Linked DNA regions of Homo sapiens: region 2 is linked to region 1. The links are contacts of gene promoters, found by promoter capture Hi-C in blood cells and fetal thymus (Javierre and others, 2016). All regions are on one chromosome and are shown on one strand. The core of a region is centred on a gene start or on the middle of the fragment in contact, and the rest is flanking DNA. Distances in the headings are between cores, read along the strand shown.

The links. The method cuts DNA at HindIII sites, captures the fragments that hold promoters and counts their contacts. A CHiCAGO score of 5 or more calls a contact.
Region 2: a contact is called between a fragment that was not itself captured here and the fragment with the promoter of SNAPC1 in region 1, in 4 of 17 cell types (total CD4 T cells, activated CD4 T cells, naive CD4 T cells and 1 more). The highest score is 6.7, in total CD4 T cells.

The regions. Positions count from the first base shown.
Region 1 is chr14:61,758,824-61,764,637 of GRCh38, reverse strand. It overlaps SNAPC1 (small nuclear RNA activating complex polypeptide 1), which reads right to left and starts at 2,218. Exons shown (of 10, transcript NM_003082.4): 1 at 2,050-2,218. The coding sequence starts at 2,177. RefSeq lists enhancers at 1,248-1,991, 1,992-2,735, 2,803-2,892, 2,736-3,479, 3,480-4,224. The HindIII fragment of the contact is 7,963 bases long and covers 1-5,814 here.
Region 2 is chr14:61,428,668-61,434,481 of GRCh38, reverse strand. The region is part of intron 2 of PRKCH (protein kinase C eta); the gene reads right to left. Among named protein-coding and RNA genes, the nearest start is that of PRKCH-AS1, 110 kb to the right of the region's middle. The HindIII fragment of the contact is 5,538 bases long and covers 250-5,787 here.

The sequences.
Region 1 (5,814 bases), core at 969-3,468:
ACAGGCAGATACATAGTTTCCAACATCTGCTCTACAATCCACTATCTTTGTAATGGTGGAGAAATTACTTAACCTCTTTAAGCCTTAATTTCCTCATCTATAAAACAAGGATAATTATACCTGCTTTTTATAACTGTCTTATGCAATAAATAAAGCTATAAATAAATGGCATGTAGTAGCCATTTAAAAAAAAAAGTCTCTCTCCTTTTATTAACTGTACAACAAACAGCTCTTCATCCTCCATTCCTTGCAATTTAAAAAACTACAAAGGTAATTTGCTTACACTGACAGAGAGAAAATGAGTTTTTACATTTTGTTCAGAAAAAGTTTTAATCATAAGGTTTAACTCATTCAGAAAATCAGTTATTTCGCCTTTTTAATATTATATGTACTATGGTAATAAAAATAGATTCATCCAGTCACTGTCCTCACAGAGGTCAGTCTAGTCAAAGGAAAATTTTAAAACGGTAGTAATAATGAACATTTGACCAGCCTGGCCAACATGGTGAAATCCCGTCTCTACTAAAAATACAAAAATTAGCCAGGCTTGGTGGCACAAGCCGTAGTCCCAGCTACTCGGGAGGCTGAGGCAGGAGAATCTCTTGAACCCGGGAGGTGGAGGTTGCAGTGATAGGAGATCGCACCATTACACTCCAGCCTGGGTGACAGAGCAAGACTATGTCTCAAGAAAAAAAAATAATAATAATGAACATTTATTGAGCACTTAGAATGTATTTCTGATATATCAGCTCATTTAATCTTCACAACTACTATGAGGTTTATCATTGCCTCTATTTTACAGATATGGAAACTCAAGTAACTTGCCCCAAGTCATAGCGGACCCTGCAATCAAATGCAGCCAATTGGGTTCCATAACCTATGCCCTTAACAATCCCACACTGCCTTTTCAACTATACCATTACAACAAAATGTGGAAAGCGGTGACATAAAATAAAAACAGGGTGCTATGCGGGGAAAAAACATGAACAGCGTACTCAGTCTAGAAGAGCAAAAAAGACTTCCCCCGAGGATGTCATTTGAGCTTAACCCTGAGTGAAGAATAAGGTGGACAAAACAAGAGAGTTGCGGTGGAAACTCCAGGATTAGGAAAAGCCTGTAGAGGGCCCAAAGAAAAAAAAAAAAAAAAAAAAGCAGCTGCTGGAGCAAGAAAGTGAGTGCATGGAGGGGACTGGCAGGCGAAGCTGGAGAGATAGGCAAAGGCCAGTGAGGAATGGTCTTGGCAAGTCAGAGAATTCAAGCGTTATCCCAAAGGCAATGGGCACCACTACAGAGTAATAAGTCGGGGAGTGACATAATCAAATTTGCACTTTTGAAAAACAACTTTTGGGCCGGGCGCGGTGGCTCACTCCTGTAATCCTAGCGCTTTGGGAGGCCGAGGCGGGCGGGTCACGAGATCAGGAGTTCGAGGCCAGTCTGGCCAACATAGTAAAACCCCGTCTCTACTAAAAATACAAAAAATTAACCGGGCGTGGTGCCGGGCACCTGTAATCCCAGCTACTCCGGAGGTTGAGGCAAGAGAATCACTTGAACCTGAGAGGCGAAGGGTTGCACTGAGCCGCGAACGCGCCATTGCACTCCAGCCTGGGCGACAAAAGGAGACTCCGTCTCAAAAAAAAAAAAAAAAAAAAAAAAAAAGACAACTTTGGTTGTTGGAGGAAAAATTAATTCAATCTTGAAGGGTTTTGTCTTTGCTTGTGTGTTTTTAAACATCAGGTCCTAGAACAAGACTGGGGAAGGGCAAATGATAGTGGCCTGGCTCAGGGTGGAGATGGGAGAGAGGAGTTTAGAAGGGAGGCCAGGCAGAGACGCATATTTGGGAGGAGGCCGCAACAACCATCAGGGCACAATGAAATAGAGCAGGGAAAGCGCGTTGCCTGAGCACAGGGGAAGGTCCAGGAGTCATGGAGGCAACCTTCGGTGACTGCCGCTCTTCTCAGCCCTTCACAAGTGCAATATCGCCGGGAAGGAGGCAACTTTCTACACCACCTGCGGGCAGGGAGAGGCGGGTGGTGGACAAGAAACACCCACCAGAAGATAGTCCCGAACTTCATGTTTCTCCAGAGCTCCGTGAAGTCCTCGAAGCGTACACTGTCCGTCTCCTGGAAGCGGCTGAGCAGCGCCTCGCAGTCGGTCTGCAGGCCGGGAGGAGTCCCCATGGCACCCGAAGCCCGCACGCCTCCGAAGCCCGCACGCCTCTAACGGACTAGCCAGCGGTGGTCGCCCAGGAAACCAAGCCCGAACGGCCCGCCCCCTACGGCGTGCGCACACGCGCTCCGTGATGCATTATCCGGCACCTTTAGCTCCGCCTTTATCCGGGCTCTTGCCACCGGTCGTGTGCTTACTGCGCGTGCGTGAAAGCGTTCTGATGTTTTACTGGCTGAGATTGCTTTCACCCAGAGTGCTGAGATCCACCCTTCTTTGGAAGAGGTTTACGTCTAAAGTGTTGTGTTTGCTCACGAGCGGTTTTAGGTCTTCATTTTCCGCTAGGTTATGTAACTTGACTTTACCCTTACTAGCACTCTCCTTTAAACTGACCCTAGTGTGACATAAGTGAACTTTTGAGCTAGGAAAGAACAGTCCCAACCCCAACCCCACTCCCACTTGGGAAGAGAAGCTAAAGAAGGCTTGCTAGGAAACAAACTGCACTCATTCTCCTTCTGGTCATCGAGAACCCTAATACTCTGTACCCACATAATACGATGCTTAATGTGCGGCCCTCTCTTTGTAGCCCTGGCATTCTGCAACCACTCTTGAAAAGAAGAGCTGCATTTCATACCCTCTTGTAAACAGCCCTCCTCCTGCCCTGCCACGCATTCACCCCTGTGCTACATAGCACTTAGCAGAAAATACCTACTTGTTATATTCTTGTTATATTATTATTTGGATGAATTGCCTTTTTGTGTACACGCTGCCACCTAGCTTCCTTCCTCCAGGAGCTAGCTATGGAGTAACATTTTGAACTTTAGATCATTTCTCTGATTGAAAGGTAAGCTATCATTCTTTAGAAGAGGTATCCTGATATAATAGAAAAACATTGGGCTTTCTGTGTGTAAATGGAGTGTCAACTCACTTTACTTTTCTGATCCTTGACCTGTTTTTGTTTGTTTGTTTGTTTGTTTGGATTTGTTTGTTTTTTGTTTTGAGACGGAGTTTCGCTCTTGTTGCCCAGGCCGGAGTTCAGTGGCGCGGTCTCGGTTCACTGCAACTTCCGCCTCCCGAGTTCAAGCGATTCTCCTGCCTCAGCCTCCCGAGTAGCTGGGATTACAGGCATGCACCACTCCAACCGGATTTTGTTTTGTTTTGTTTTGTTTGTATTTTTAGTAGAGACAGGGTTTCACCATGTTGGCCAGGCTGGTCTCGAACTGCTAACCTCAGGTGATCCGCTCCCCTCGGCCTCCCAAAGTGTTGGGATTACAGACGTGAGCCACTGCACCCTGCCCTCTTGACCTGTTTTTTAAATGTTATGTAATATTTTATGTCACAGAAAAATTTATGCGATGTGTGAGATAAAAAGCATAGCAGTTAAACACCTGTACACCTTTCACCTGTGTAGGAACCAGAACATTACCAACGCCTTCACATCAATCTGCGATTTCCTCCTCTGACCTATTCCTTTGACTGTACCCTACTTTAATCACAGCTACTGGTTGGGCACGGTGGCTCACGCCTGAAATCCCAACACTTTGGGAGACAAAAGCAAGAGGATTGCTTAAGCACAAGAGTTGGAGACCAGCCTGGGAAACATGGTGAAAATTAGCCGGGCATGGTGGTGCACACCTGTAGTCCCAGCTACTCGGGAGGCTGAGGTGGGAGGATCATTTGAGCCTGGGAGATGGTGGTTACAGGAGACAGAGGTTGCAGTGGTGAGCCGAGATCGTGCCACTGCACTCCATCCTGGGCTACGGAGTGAGACCGAATCTCAAAAAATAAATAAATAACTACCTTGAATTTTGTTTCTCTTTCTCATGTATATATTTTATCACATATGTATGTATATTTAAACGGTATATTTTTTAGTTGTGGTTGGTTTTGAGTTTTATGAAAATGGTATTGCAACTGGCTGGGCGCAGTGGCTCACGCCTGTAATCCCAGCAATTTGGGAGGCTGAGGTGGGTGGATCACCAGGTCAAGAGTTCGAGACCAGCGTGACCAAAATAGTGAAACCCCGTCTCTAATAAAAACACAAAAATTAGCTAGGCGTAGTGGCGTGTGCCTGTAATCCCAGCTACTTGGGAGGCTGGGGCAGGAGAACCACTTGAACCTGGGAGGCAGAGGTTGCAGTGAGCCAAAATGCATTATTTCCCCCATGATAGAGTGGGGGAACCATTTGGGAAATGGTTCATTACAACAGATAATTTGAGAAGCACTGTTATACACCATTTCAGTCCACATTCCATTGGCCAGAACTCAGTCACATGGACCCATTCAGGTGCAAAGGTGGCTGAGAAACGTCATCACTAATTAGGCAACCTCTCCCCAACAATAGTTTCAATCGCTGGAAGAGGTGCACACGTCTTTGTTGGACCACGTATTAGCTCATTTCTGCTGCTATAACAAAATACCATAGAATAGGTAGCTTACAAACAACAGAAATTTATTTCTCACAGTTCTGGGAGGCTGGGAAATCTAAGATCAAGGTGCTGGCAGATTCCGTGCCTGGTGAGGGCTGCTCTCTGCTTTCAAGATGGCACCTTGTTGCCGTGTCCTCACATGGCATAATAGCGGAAGGACAAAAGAGGCCTAGCTAGTTCCCTCCAGCCCTTTTATAAAATCACTAATCCCATTCATGAGTCCTCATGACTTAATTACCTGCTAAGGCCCTACCTCTTAATGCTATCACATTGTTAATTAAGTTTCAACACATTGATTTTGGGAGACATTCAGACCAGAACAGACTGCCAACATGTCTGCTGCAATTTTATTCAGAAACTCTGAAAGTATTACCTTTCACTTTTAATTTACTGTCATCCATCTAAAAATTTATTTCTATGTATGGTATAAGGATCCTATTTCACTTTTTTCCATATGTATAACCATATGTATGTATATGTATTTCCCGTATGTATAATTTTCCAGCATCTGTTATTGAAAAGTCCATCCTTTCCCAAAATTCACTTCTGTTATATGTCAAGTTGCATGGCTAATTGCAAACAGTACACAACTATGGCTTTGTACCTGTTATTAAAATACCAAACCATAGTGCAGTATTTCCATTACTGTTAGTATAACAGTTACCACTCTAAGCCTCCTTACTACCCTCATCCCAAACACTTGGGCCCCCCAGGCCACAAATCCCTCAACCTCCCAGCCTCTAAAACTGAAGTGGTTAAGCCTGGCACAGGAAGGAACCTTCAGTGCCGGCTCCAGCTTCAGTCTACTCCTAGGGTTGTTATCTACTTTCAAGGCTCCATTTAGATTTCACTTCTCTAACACCACACTAATTACTACAGAGTATCTTGACTATTCTTGAATTTTCACTTTTTCATATAAATTTTAAATTTGACTTGTCAAATTTCTCTGATAGCGCCATTGGGATTTCAATTGAATTACATTAAATCTGTAAGTCAATTTGGGAAGGAATAACATCTTTTTTTTTTTTTTTTTTTTTTTGAGATGGAGTTTCATTCTTGTTGCCCAGGCTGGAGTGCAATGGCGCGATCTCAGCTCACTGCAACCTCCACCTCCAGGGTTCAAGTGATTCTCCTACCTCAGCCTCCCAAGTAGCTTGGATCACAGGCATGTGCCACCATACCCAGCTAATTTTGTAGTTTTGGTAGAGATTGAGGTTTCACC
Region 2 (5,814 bases), core at 1,769-4,268, 330 kb after region 1:
TTCTTCTTTCTTCCTTTTTGGTGTTTTTTTTTCTCATTAACAGTAGGTCAGACATTCTTCATTTTTTAATACATGAAAATTAAACATTCCTCAGCGGATCATCACTGCTCGGTTTCAGGATGATGAAGAAAAATGTTTCTGTTCCATCACATTTGGGTTGCATCATGTGGAGGTGCAACCCCACTATGACTCTCACTGTCATTCTATCTGAAAAACATCTCAAAATGGTATTATTGTCAACTCCAAGCTTAAACAAGATAATGTATCCTGGTTTTATATACTTGAAAATGTAAACATTTTCCAGTTATCTGGAGATTTTTCTCTGATTCTTCTTTACTAAATTTAACTGGAGAGAACATGTCTCATTCATGAGCCTCTGTCCTCCTGATAACATTTTAAATGTAATGTAAATGCAATGTAAGGGAACAACGTAGCTATGATGTGGTCTCAGCTGTCAGAGAAGAGGCACCATGTAAGATCTCTCTTTTTGATTTATTGTTGTCATTGTTTATAAAGACAATATGATGATCACTATGGAAAATGTAAGTGGTACAGAAAACTATCATGAAGAGTTTCTTTTTAAAAATCATAAATCTTATTACATCAATAATCACTGAAAATCCTGGTGTACATGCCAAATATATACTGTACATCTACAGTCTTAAATTAATGATGTATGTTATACTCTATGTGTTGCGCAGCCAACTACTTTCACCCAAAACATCTTTTCATATCTTTTTAAAAGTTGCTGTTTCTGTTCTTGTAGCCACTAATACTAAAGTTACCATTTAATCATATTTCATAAAGTATGTATACATTATCACAACTTAAAAGTAAGCTGATAGCACGATCATATGATCCCCGTGAAAGCAGGGCTCCTCTGTTTAAAATCTGTGTATTTTTCTCATTTACTTGAAGCTCAGGGACTGTTCTCTCTACCCCCACCCCAGCCTTCAAGCCCAGGTTGATCTTCCTTCCTCACAAAAAAGATTCTTACACAAACAACCTGTCCAACCAAAATCTTTTCCAGATAAACATATGTTTCCTGCTGAGAACTAAAAGAATCCTGCCCTTTAGTTTGGCTTATTCCATTTCCCTTTTGATTTTTTTTTCTCTCTTATCCACTGGTAGACTTCTAAAGTCCCTTTTAAGCTCTCAAGTTCTGGTTTCATGATTTTGGAAAAATCTTAAAGGATATTAGCCATGAGGAGTATGCTGCCGAGTCATTTCCTTCTCCAAGTGCATGGTGGAGAGAAAGCTCTGCTGCCTTCTTCATGTTTCTGATTCAACATGATTTTTAAAACTGCTGTACTGTTGCTCACTGTAAACAGACTAATTTGAAATCCAACACCAAAGATTAACCACCTTTATCACAAAACCAAGGTGAGAGCTTTGAACCTCGGCCACCATTTTTTGATAGTTTTTTTTTTTTTTTTTTGAAGAGGTTGGGGGGTGAGGGGAGGGAACTTAGAGGACAGGTCAATAGGTGCAGCAAACCACCATGGTACACGTATACTTATGTAACAAACCTGTACGCTCTGCACATGTATCCCCCCCACTTTTTTTTTATTAAGAAGAAATAAAGGAAAAAAAAAAAGAAAAAGGTAAAGGGGATCACGGTGGCTCACGCCTATTATCTCAGGACTTTGGGAGGCTGAAGTGGGAGGATCACTTGAGGCCAGGAGTACAAAACCAGTCTGGACAATATAGCGAGGGACTCTGGAAGTCATGTATTCTTTCTGTGCCTGGTGGCAGGCTTTTCTGGAAATGGAAAAGGCTGAGTCAAATAATCAGTGAAGTTCCTTCTAGCTCTTAAGAGTCCATGATCCCAGTGAAACTAGCGTTACTGCTGGGCGCAGTGGCTCGTGCCTGTAATCCCAGCACTTTGAGAGGCCAAGGCAGGAGGACTGCTTGAAGCCAGAAGTTTAAGACCAGCCTGGGCAACAAAGCAAGACCCTCTGTCTATTAAAAAAATAAAGTAAGAAACTAGCTTTCCAGAATGAGGGCAAAATAAAGATATTTCAGAAAACTGAGATTGTTCACTACCAAATACCTTCGCTAAATAAAGAATGTACTTGAAGAGAATCTACTTGAAGAAGGAGGGAAATGTTCGAGGGAAGGTTTGAGCTATACAAGAAAGTGGTATGTTAAAAAATTATAAACATGTAAGTAAATAGAAACAAAGAAGGATGGAATAACTAATAACATCTAGTTAATGGAGCTTCAAAAGAAAAATAAAAAGATATCAAAAATATCAAGGAAATGCACATAAGCCAGGAGGAAAGTGACTGGAGTTAAAAACATTCTAACATCCTTAGATTGCTCAGTAGGAGGGTAAAGTGGTAGCTAACTTTAGACTTAGTTACACAGACATGTTAAAATTCCAAGTATAATCACTTAAAAAAAAAAAAAAAGAGAGAGAGATTCTATCTTCCAAACCAATAGAGGTGGGAAAAAATGGAATTGGTAGAGACAGTGGTAGAGGGAGAATCTCAATAAACTTCTAGAAATAGGAAATCTAACCACCTGTTGTTTATAAAGCACAAACCTAAGACATAGGTAGAAAAAGTAGAAAGTAAATGAATTAAAGAAGATGCAAAGCAGGGCAAATACTAGCCAAAAGACATGCAATGCAGCCACATTAACGTCAGATAAAATACACTGTAAAAGAAAGAATTGCTAGAAATAAAAAGAAGTGATTGTATAATAAAAGGTTTTACCAGGAAAATATAACAGTATATTTGTATATATTCAGTAGCAGAGCTTTAAAGTAAACCAACAAACAGCATTTACTCATTACTGCAGAGCTATACTGTTGCAGAGCTGAGTGGTGTCCTAGGATTACATTCCCTTCTCTAAGCATGCATTCTAGAACACTCTAAAAAGAAAAAAAAATCCAAATGGCAACATTAGCAGCAGCGAATCCATATGGGTCTGCAGCAACTCGATTCTTGCTTCCTTGGAGGAAAGAATTTGGCCAGAGAGGATAAGGTAGAATGAGACCAAGGCAAGTTTTAGAGCAGGAGTTAAAGTATATTAAAAAGTTTGAGAACAGGAATGAAAGGAAGCAAAGTACACGTGGAAGAGGGCCAAGTGGGCAATTTGAGAGATCCGAGGACCCTGTCCGACGCTTGACTTGGGATTTTTACACAATGGCATGGTGCTGAGGTTTGTGTCTCTCCTCCCTTGGTTTTTCCTTGGGGTGGGCTGTCCGCATGTGCAGTGGCCTGCCAGCACTTGGGAAGGGCCGCATGTACAGTGTGTTTACTGAAGCTGTGCACATGTTCATTTGAGGCATTTTTCCCTTACCAATTGAGTGTTCCTAGAGGAAGGTCATACACCAGCTAAACTCCACCATTTTGTCTCTTAGCATGCAAGTTTGAGCCCACTCATCCAACGCCTGAGATCCTATGAGGAAGCTACTGATTGGCCGGGTGCCGCGGCTCACGCCTGTAATCCCAGCATTTTGGGAGGCCGAGGCGGGCGGATCGCGAGGTCAGGAGATCCAGACCATCCTGGCCAACATGGCGAAACCCCATCTCTACTAAAAATATAAAAAATTAGCCAGGCGTGGTGGCACGTGCCTGTAGTCCCAGCTACTCGGGAGGCTGAGGCAGGAGAATCGCTTGAACCCGGGAGGCAGCGATTGCAGTGAGCTGAGATCACGACACCGCATTCTAGCCTGGGCAACAGAGCAAGACTCCATCTCAAAAAAAAAAAAAGGAAGCTGCTGATTAAGAGCTTAAGGTGTTTTCTATCTACTGGGAGTCTGCTTTCCCTGGTGCAAGCTGTGACCAACTAGTATGTTAGTGAGACAGTTTAACAACCACCTGACCATCACCTGATGGTTGCCTGACATTCCTGTGGGGGAGGGGGGCCTCTCCTGCCCCGCTCATATCTGCCTAACTACTCTAACAGCAAGGTCAGATATAGTCCCTATTCTTTTATTCCACTGGCTGTTCAAAATCATACCATGGCTGGCATCTGCTTTTCTATTGACAGAGATATGCTTCATTTGTCTTGGGTAAATACCTAAGAACTGCTGGGTAACAAGGTAGTGGTCTGTTTAGTTCTGTAAGAAACTGCCAGACCATTTTTCAAAGCGGTTGTACCATTTTGAACTCCCACTAAAAATATGAAAAGTTCTAGTGCTCCACAGTCTCACCAACATTTAGTGTTGTTGGTCTTTTTCATTTTAGCCTTTCTAGTGGTATCTCATTGTGGTCTTAATTTGCATATCCCTAAAGCCTAAAATTGCTGAGCATGTTTCTATGTGTGTATTGCCCATTCATATTTCTTTTGAGAAAATGTCTGTTCAAATCTTTTGCTCATTTTTTTAAAATTGGGCTGTTTGTCTTTTCATTGAATCATGACTTTATTTAGGGGGACACAGTCACTGTTTTTCCTATTAAGAAAAGCAACATATGCCTCTACTCTTGATTCCATGGAATTTACCTGATAACTCTTTGCCCAAGACTATGTATGTGTAGACTGAAGGTAAAGAAGGTTTCAGAAAGGTTAGGGATCATGTTTACTTTTTCTGCATACATATTGGAAGACAGCGGGGTAGAGAGACTAAAACCTACAAAATCCCATCTATATAGTATTATTCTGGCCAGCAGATAGACAAAAATCACACTTCTGCCAAGTTTTTATACCGTCTCTAGCTGAATAAGAGAAACTAGTTAAATTTTAATATTTTAAAATTTTAATAAGATAATTCAAATTACATTGTTTCTGCTTCCTCTCTATTTACAATTCCTAGTACATATGGGTTTTTATTTTATTTTCCTGGCGTCTTTAGAATGGGTCTTGTTAGTTTCATTGTCAAGTTCTTTATTAATTGAAACAGATTTGATTTTAGTAACTGCCACTGTAACTAGCCAACTATGACACAGTCCACAAGACACACATTCTAGGATTCCCTGAGGCCCTGAAAACAATGGGTGTGACTATTCTCCATTATCTGAAAGTAATGTACTCAGTTATTGTACAGACTGATTTTTAAAAGAAATTCCTCAAATCCTTCTTTGATCACAAAGACAAAAAACAGTGGACGAGAGCATATGCTCTCTAACTGTAAAGCATTTATAAATGTTGCTTCACCATCTGTCTTTGAGAAACAGAAGGTTGCCTCAGTTCTATAGGTTTCTATTTAAGCTGTTACCCAAAACTTACAAATTGGTTCCATAACATGAACATAGTAATCCTGATGAAAATGGTATAAAAATCTGTGCCCTTTCTGGTCTTCCAGTCTACTTTTTCTGTTTCATGTTTGTATTGAAGAAGAGGGTAGGAGCCAGTTTCACTTGATTTGCAAGGAATGAAACCTTTCATGCTTCCTTCTATTCTCCAGACCAACAGAAACTCATGCAAAATGCTAGGAGTCCCTAAAACAATTCAGAGGTAATTCCCTCTTGCTTTAATTTTGTTTCCTTTAAGAACTTATTTTTAACCTTTGGCCTTGACTGTGGAACACAGGATAATGATGGAATGTCAACTATGACATGCAGAATTCTTTAAACCATCTAAGCAAAAAAAGAAAAAACTATAGTTACACATATCTTGCTCCACCTCTCCTCCAAAAAAAGGTATTTTAAAGAGACAGAGTAAAAGCTAGCTACAGGGAAAAAAAAATGTTTTTAACTTTCATAGGCAATGATTGAATTTCAGAATCAAACCAGTGGGGAATACTTTCCGTGATTGATAGACACAGAAATTTTTCATTTTCCCAAAACAAGAGCTCCCACTAAAGCATTTTTGGTGTTTAAGGGCCAGGTTAAAGCTTTACTCAGACATCGAAGTAAAGTAGAT